Regions from separate parts of the Homo sapiens genome. Here region 1 is linked to region 2. The links are contacts of gene promoters, found by promoter capture Hi-C in human tissues and cell types (Jung and others, 2019). All regions are on one chromosome and are shown on one strand. Each heading gives the region's core, a stretch centred on a gene start or on the middle of the fragment in contact. The rest is flanking DNA. Distances are from core to core; before and after follow the strand shown. Region 1 holds the start of STIM1 (stromal interaction molecule 1). Region 2 has its middle 8.0 kb from the start of LINC02749.

Evidence for each region. The method cuts DNA at HindIII sites, captures the fragments that hold promoters and counts their contacts. A contact is called where the count stands out against the background at its distance.
Region 1: a contact is called between the fragment with the promoter of STIM1 here and a fragment that was not itself captured in region 2, in 1 of the 25 tissues and cell types used here (liver).

What each region holds. Positions count from the first base shown.
Region 1 is chr11:3,854,130-3,858,163 of GRCh38, forward strand. It overlaps STIM1 (stromal interaction molecule 1), which reads left to right and starts at 1,535. Exons shown (of 13, transcript NM_001382567.1): 1 at 1,535-2,280. The coding sequence starts at 2,142. It overlaps STIM1-AS1 (STIM1 antisense RNA 1), which reads right to left and starts at 1,449. Exons shown (of 2, transcript NR_183662.1): 1 at 1,228-1,449; 2 at 194-529. It overlaps MIR4687 (microRNA 4687), which reads left to right and starts at 1,933; the gene lies at 1,933-2,012. RefSeq lists enhancers at 511-580, 790-1,735, 1,951-2,160, 2,311-2,390, 2,401-2,450 and silencers at 921-970, 1,451-1,510, 1,571-1,730. The HindIII fragment of the contact is 10,936 bases long and covers 1-4,034 here.
Region 2 is chr11:4,177,134-4,181,179 of GRCh38, forward strand. No RefSeq gene overlaps it. Among named protein-coding and RNA genes, the nearest start is that of LINC02749, 8.0 kb to the right of the region's middle. RefSeq lists enhancers at 1,607-2,134, 2,135-2,661. The HindIII fragment of the contact is 3,553 bases long and covers 821-4,046 here.

The sequences.
Region 1 (4,034 bases), core at 285-2,784, 320 kb before region 2:
TTTCTAAGGAGACACATTGAGCTGTATCTGGAAGAGTAAGAGACCAGCTACATGAGGAACTGGGAGCAGGCGAGAGTGTTTCATGCAGAAGCAACAGCAGATACAAAGGCTGTGAGGTGGCTGAGTTTGACGTGGTTAGGAACTTAACGAAGGCTAGTGTGACAGGAGCTTAACAGAGCCGGGAGAGTGGTAGTAGGTTACATTAGCCATGTATTTTTATATCAACGGCCTAACCCTTAAGCCAGGCAGCTGTTGGGCAAATTCGTGTTCCCAGTCTTCAGGGGCCTTGCTCAGAACAGGTAGCTGGTTTAGCACTGTCAGTCAGAGGAGGGACTGGGCCTGATCCTTTCCCCTGCGTCTGGTGCCAAGGACAGGGTAGGGCACAGAGGTTTCAGTCAAGATCTGCTGACAGCACGCTTGAGAAGAGAACAGGAAGTGCAGGCTTTGTTGAAGGAGGCTCAGGCGTGGCTCTGTCTTCTTTGGCGCACTCATTCTCAAGTCGCTGACACCTCCTCCACCAGAGAGGTAGCTGGGAGAATGAGATGCAGGGAGGAAGCATTTACAGGCCCCACCGAAAAACCTTAAAGGGCTGAGAGCTTGAGGGCAGGTAGGAAAAAGGGCTGTGAGAGCTAAGGGAGGGCATCCCACTTAGCTTGGAGGGGAAGGGAGGCGGGGTCGGGAAAGCAGATGGCACCCTTTAGCCCAGACTCAAGGAATGTGTAGGGGAATTTTAGCTAGAGTGGTTTGGACATTTCATTTTGCTTTCTGGCATCATCATTTCCTCAGAAAACACTCGCAGGCCCCAGTGGCCCTCGTGGGCCTCCCCCGGGGCGGGTCTTAGCTTCACTCGGCAACCCTCTGCAAAAGAGCAGGCCCTCCCAGGAGCGCCGAGTCCTGTCTGCAGTTTGCTGATTTTCCCACCAGGGGCCGCTGCGCATGGGCGACGAAGCGCGCGGGTTCCCAAGCCGCAGAGAGGCGGAAGCCGATTGGTTGTCAGGCGAGGCGCGAGGGCGGAGCCTGGGAACTGGCCGGGAGTTGGGGGCTGGGAGCTCGCCCCCGGGCCGAGCCGGGTCAGGCTGTTGTCGCCTCAGGCAGCTCCTGGGAGGCTAACGTCGTGTCCTGGGCCTCTGTTTAGACAGCTCTAGAACTGAGGCGAGTGGAGCAGCACCAAGGCCCGGAGATCGGGGCAGGGCAGCTGCTGTCGCCGCCGCCGCAGGCCTGAGTTACCTGAGTAACTGCGGGTCAGGGACCCGCCCGACGGCCCGCGGTTGGCGCTGGAGACTCTCGGTGGGGAAAGGGAAGCTGGGACTTGATCCTTTGCGCGGGATCCTGGCAAAGACTAGCGCGGGCCGGGGGTCCGGGAGAGCCCGCTAGGGGCGGGGATTCCGGGGAGCCGTCTTCACCGGTTATTCCGGGATCCAGCTGGGCGCTGGGGCTGGCCCGGGCTTCGCTGGGGACCGGGCGGCGCGGGGCGGGCGCGGAGACGCACGCCCCCGCCCGCCCCGGGCCCGCCCCGCGCCGCCCGCCCGCCTGGAAGCCGCTGTCCTGGGCCTGGCCGGTGTGCGTCCGCCTGCTGGACCTGGGCACCGCCAGCCGCCTGGGCACGGGACTGGGCGGGGGCGCTGACCTCGGCCTAGGAGGCCCAGGATCCCGGAGACGCCCGCGCCCTCAGGACCCTGCGGGTCGCACGCCCTCCCCAGCTTCTGCTGCTCGCCGCTCTTCGGCAGGGCGAGGTCAGGTGCCCCCTTCTCGCCTCTCTTCTCTTCTCTTCTCTTCCTCCTCCACTTCTGTGCCCGCGGAGACTCCGGCCGCCCCCTTCCGCAGGGGTGTAGTAATCTGCGGAGCTGACAGCAGCCCCGCAGCCACCCTGCCCGAAGTCTCCGGAAGCGGCACGAGCTCAGGCCGCCGCAGCCCCGGCGGACCCACTGTTGGACCTGAGGAGCCAGCCCTCCTCCCGCACCCAAACTTGGAGCACTTGACCTTTGGCTGTTGGAGGGGGCAGGCTCGCGGGTGGCTGGACAGCTGCGGAGCCGCGAGGGCATCTTGCCTGGAGACCGTCGGCTGCACTCCCGGGCTCCTGGCTTTGCCTCTGGGATCCCGAGGTGTCCACATCAGACGCATGTTGACTGAGACCTAGAGTCATGGATGTATGCGTCCGTCTTGCCCTGTGGCTCCTCTGGGGACTCCTCCTGCACCAGGGCCAGAGCCTCAGCCATAGTCACAGTGAGAAGGCGACAGGAACCAGCTCGGGGGCCAACTCTGAGGAGTCCACTGCAGCAGGTAAGGCCTTGCTGCGGGCTGGACTGGGCTGGAGGCTTTGGCTCAGGACTGAGTGGCCCGAAGTGGGCAAGTTGAAATCTAGGTTTGTACATGTGAGGTTCATGGAGGATTCACACATGGCACTGCCTGTTCCAAGTAGTTCAAGAAGTTCTTTCTGGTCAGTAGTCATGGCAAATGCCTGTATCTTTCCTGAACAACTTTCCTCATCCCCCGCACTCAGGATTTTTTTTGTTGGCAGTAAGAAGAAGCCTTTGGGGCAACTTGACCTTTTAGATCAGCAAGGAAAGACCCCATCTTAGGCCTACTTGTCTGGAAGAATGGCCTGGTGAGATGATAAGTTCATTGCTCCTATTCGGTTTTAGTACTGAGCAGCATGGGGGAGGTTGGGGCCACTTATGTTGGAAAGGGAAAGTTAAGGCTGGGCCACCTCTGTTGCCTGAAAGCCTGGTGTTCAGGTGTGCCTATTCCAACAACCGTGGGAACCCTAGTCCCACCCTTCCCTTAGGTAGTCTTGTCTCTTTGCTGTGCGCATTTGAAATATCCAGGCGGTTTCTTAGATGGAATCCTATTTACAACTAGGGTGTTAAATGGCCTTTTCTTGACATAGACATGATATAATTCCTGGGACCACTTGTTGACTTATTCTGTTTCTTCTGACTGATGAGGGTGGGAATTCCATGCTACAGGTTTTTTTTTTTGTTTTTTTTTTTTTTTCCCTGAGTCTGCTTGCTAGGGAAACCATGCTACTTTTGATCTGTCATGGTTTTTCCTATGCAGTTGTGAAGGCTTATCAGGCAGCAGGAGCCCTGGTATACTTTTGCAGTAGAAAGGAACACTTTTATGTTTTGTTTTGTTTTTTTGAGACAGGGTCTTGATCTGTCGTCCAAGCTGGAATGCAGTAGTGTGATCACAGCTCACTACAGCCTCAAACTCCTGGGTTCAAGTGATCCTCCTGCCTCAGCCTCCCGGTAGCTGGGACTAAACACAAGAGCCACTGGGCCTGGCTAACTTTTTTTTTCTTTCTATTTTTAATTTTTTGAACAGACACTGTCTCTCTGTGTTGTGCAGGGATCCCTCCCAAAGTGCTGGGATTACAGGTGTGAGCCACTGTACCCATCAAGGAACTCTATTAAAATCCAGTCATTTTACATAAGGCTTACGAGATCAGTTCTCTTTTCCCATTTCTCTCACCCTTTGGCTGTGATCTGCCCAAAGCTGTGACCTGCAGTGTGGGGAGAGTTTATAGATGAGTTGTTTCTGAGCATAAGCAAGTTCAAATGAGGGAATGGCTCAGTGGGCACCTGCTGATACAAGTCAGAAAAGGAAATATAGGTCATGGTGGCTGGGGAGTTTCATGGATGGATCCAGAAGCTGGCTTTGGTGGTAGACCCTTTATTGGGCAATACCCTTTTAAGTTCCAGATGTTCCAAGAGGTCTGGTTTCCAAATGAGGCCAGGGTTGCCCATGTGTAAGTAGGATACCTGGCTGTTGCTTTCTAGATAGATCCTTTTTGCCTATTAATCCTGTCTCTCCATAGAGAGTCTCCTTGACCTTTGAGACCTGGCTGAAAGCTTGGTTCTTATTGGGCTATGAAGGGAAAGACTAGTGGGCAAATGTAGATTGAACTGTGAAGTAGACCTAATTATCATCTCTTCCTGTCCCTGTGACATTCCTATTTATAACTGATAATATGTCTTTTTTCACTCCAAAATATGAGTGCCTGACATAAGATGAATATTTTTTGGAGAGTGGGT
Region 2 (4,046 bases), core at 1,347-3,846:
TCTTGGCTCACTGCAACCTCCACCTCTCAGGTTCAAGCGATTCTCCTTCCTCAGCCTCCTGAGTAGCTGGGATTACAGGTGTGTGCCACCATGCCTGGCTAACTTTGTATTTTTAATAGAGATGGGGTTTCACCATGTTGGCCAGGCTGGTCTTGAACTCCTGACCTCAGGTGATCCACCTGCCTCGGCTTCCCAAAGTGTTAGGATTACAGGTGTGAGCCACCGTGCCCGGCCAGTATAGTCATCTTAAGGACATCAATTATTTTGATTTAAGAACATAGGCTCTCTTTCCATTTGTTTGTGTCCTCTTTAATTTATTTCATCAGTGTTTTGTAGTTTTCCTTGTTTTTTGCCTCACGATTAAATTTATTCCTAGGTATTTTATTTTATTTTTAAAAGCTTGTTTTCTTTTTTAATTGGCATATAATAATAGTACATATTTATGGAATCCCAAGTTATGTTTTGATACATACAGTGTAGACTTTTTCTTCCACTAATTTTGGTTTTGGTTTTCTCTTGCTTTTCTCATTCCTTGAGGTGCATTGTTAGATTATTTGAATTCTTTCCACTTTTTTGATGTAGGCATTTATTGCTATAAACTACCATTTAGCACTGCTTTTGCTGTATCCCATAGATTTTGGTATGTTGTGTTTTGATTTTCATTTGTTTCAAGAAATTTTTTGATTTCCTTTTAAATTTCTTTTTTGATCCAATGGCCATTCAGGGACATGTTGTTTAATTTCCATATATTTGTGCAGTTTCCAACATTCCTCTTGTTATTAACTTCTGGTTTTATTTTATTGTGGTCTGAGAAGGTACTTCATATGATTTTGATATTTAAAAATTTGTGGAGACTTGTTTTGTGTGCTAACATATGGTTTATCCTGGAGCATGTTCCATATGCTGATGAGAAGAATGTGTGTTTTGTAGCTGTTGGATGAAATGTCCTGTAAATTTTTGTTAGGTATATTTGGTATAATGTGCAGTTTTAATTCAATGTTTCTTTGTTAATTTTCTGTCTAGATCAGGGGTGTCCAATTTCTTGGCTTCCCTAAGGCACATTGGAAAAAGAATTGTCTTGAGCCACACATAAAATACAGTAACACTAACGAATAGCTGATGAGCTTAAAATAAATTGCAAAAGCTCTCATTATGTTTTAAGAAAGTTTATGAATTTGTGTTGAGCTGCATTCAAAGCCATCCTGGGCTGCATGTGGCCTGCAGGCCATAGGTTGAACAAGCTTGGTCTAGATAATCTGTTTAATGCTGAGAGTGGGGTGTTGAAGTTCACAACTCTTATTGTACTGGAGTCTACTTCTTTCTTTACATCTAATAATATTTGCTTTATATATCTGGGTGCTCTGATGTTGGGTGCATATATGTTTAGAATTGTTATATTCTTTTGCCAAATTGATCCCTTTATCATTATATAATGATTGTCTTTATCTCTTTTTATTGTTTTTGACTTAAAGTCTGTCTTATCTCTTATATGTACAGCTATTCCTGCTTGCCTTTGGTTTTCATTTGCATGGACTTTTTTCATCCCTTTAGTTTAAATCTATATGTGTCTTTATACATAAGGTGAGTTTCTTTTAGGAAGCATATAGTTGGGTCATGTTTTTTAATTCATTTAGCCAGTCTTTGTCTTTTATTTGGAAAGTTTAATCTGTTTGTATTCAAGGTTATTATTGATACATGATTTTATTAAATAATTTCTGGTGGCTGCATTGGGCTTGGGAGGCCAGTCCCTAGGCACATAGTGCGTACGTATGTGTGGGTGTCAGCTGTGGTGGTAGAGGCAGGTTGGGTGGGCCTGATCTCAGGCCCTGGGAAAGTGTTTGGGTGCCAAAGGTGATGAACTGGGTTGGGTGATTCCCATACCCAAAGATGACATGCTTAGGCACTGGGAAGGAGGAGTGGAGCCAGGCCTGGCTCCTTAGGCCCCTTAGTAGTGTGTGTAGGCACTGGCTGTGTTAGGCAGAGGCAGGTGATCCCTAGGCTCCTGGTGGTATGTTGGGGTGGAGGTGTCACTGCCACCCTGCTACTGGGGAGCACAGGGTTGCTTTCAGTGGCAGCAGCAGTAGGCAGGGAGCTGGGGAGCATGCACTTTGCTTGTGCTTTGGCAGCAGTAGGCAGGGAGCTGGGGAGCATGCACTTTGCTTGTGCTTTGGCAGCAGTAGGCAGGGAGCTGGGGAGCATGCACTTTGCTTGTGCTTTGGCAGCAGTAGGCAGGGAGCTGGGGAGCATGCACTTTGCTTGTGCTTTGGCAGTGGCAGTGGCTGTGGGGCAGGGGAGTCTGTCCTCAGGGCTTGTGAAATGCATAGTAACTGCTGCTGGGGGCACTGGAATCCGTGCCAATGGCTTCTGTTTTGACCCTGGGATCATCCAGCAGCTGCAGAGGCTGTAGGTTGGGTAGCCTTTCCTCAGGCCATATGAAATGTACTGTCACCCCTCTGTTGGGGGTGGGGGGTGGAGTTGCAAGCTGATGCTCTCAGTCAACCCCTTCCTCTGCTAACCATTGGTTTGCAGGCTGCATAATCCACTCTAACTTTGGGCAGGACTTCTAAGAGCTTCTAATCTGTAACTCCTTTTTGTACACCAACCCCAACCACCCAGCCTTGGGAAACTGAGTGTACAAGGCCTCAGCCTGGGTACACCGAAAGGAAGCAGAGAGGAGAAGCGAGTCAAGAAGCTTGAGATCTGACACAGGTTCTGGCAAGTGCCCTTGGGCCAGGGACTCTTATTTCCTCTTCCATAGAAGGTAGATGTTGGACTGGTGGCTTCTCATGGCCTTTCCCTTCCTGCATCAAACTTGTGATGTTTCTAGTGAATTTTGTATGATTGTAGTTTGGGAAGCTCTTTCATGTTCCCCAATTGACTTGATTTTTCGAACACTTGGGAGGTAGGTGGTACCAACCCACTTTACAGATGAGGGAACTGAGCTTTGGAGTGAGCAATCTCATAGCCAGTTGGTAACAGAACCAGGTCTGGAGTTGGCCCCCTGACTCCTATCTCCTGAGTTCACCCTGATTGCTGGGAGCTGGAGGAGCTTTTGGCACTGGGGGCAGATTGTTTTCTCCAAATGAGGCAGGCATGGGACCAGGACAAGCCAGGTCTCCTCTCCTCTTGCCCACCCTACTCACTCAGGCTAATACCTCCTATCCTGCTGTATCTAGTCTTAAAAATGGGTCTCTGTCCCCTCAGGGGGATCCTCTGGCCTCTCCAACCTTAGCTGCTCTTCTAGGAAAGTGGGCCAAAGAAAATTTCTGGTTTGGTTTGCATGTGTCCCCCAAAGTTCATGTATTGGCAACTTAATCTCCAATGAAACAATGTTGAGAGGTGGGACCTTTAAGAGGTGATTATGTAATGAATGGATTACTCTGCCCTCATGAATGGATTAATGCCATTATCACAGGAATGGATTCCTGATACAATGATGAGTTTGGTCCCCTTTCCCTTCCTCTCTCATGCTCTCTTGTCCCTCCACTTCTGCTGCAGGATGACACAGCAAGAAGGCCCTCACCAGATGCTGAGCAGATGCCGGCACCATGCCTGTGGACTTCCCAGCCTCCAGAACTGTGAGCCAAATAAATTTCTTTATACATTTCCCAGTCTCAGGTATTCTGTTAGCGGCACAAAACAGTAAATACCTTCCATGAGGCGGCAGGCAAGTAGGCCCCTGGCCCAGATGAGGAGGCTTCCTTTTCTCAGTGGGGTAGCTCTCAAATCTCCCATGCAGGGTGGGGGCGAATTCCTCCAGACAAGCTTCAGGGCCTTGGCCTTGCCTCAGTTAGGGGAAGGGGCCTGATTAGAGGTCTTTCAGTGAGAGGTGATGAGCGGAGCCAGGCTGGCCCCTGACCCCTGCCTGTAGCCAGGTTGCCTCCCTGCACCAGGCACCTTCTCCTCCTTAGCAGACTCACCTGGGGATCCATTCTTTAAGCCCCAAAGGAGAAAAGTCAGGGCCCTGAGGAAGAGGGGCACCAACTGCCTGATTCTGAAGAGTCTGCCCTGATCTGCCTGAGCCTGGGGTCTGACTTTGGGAAGTT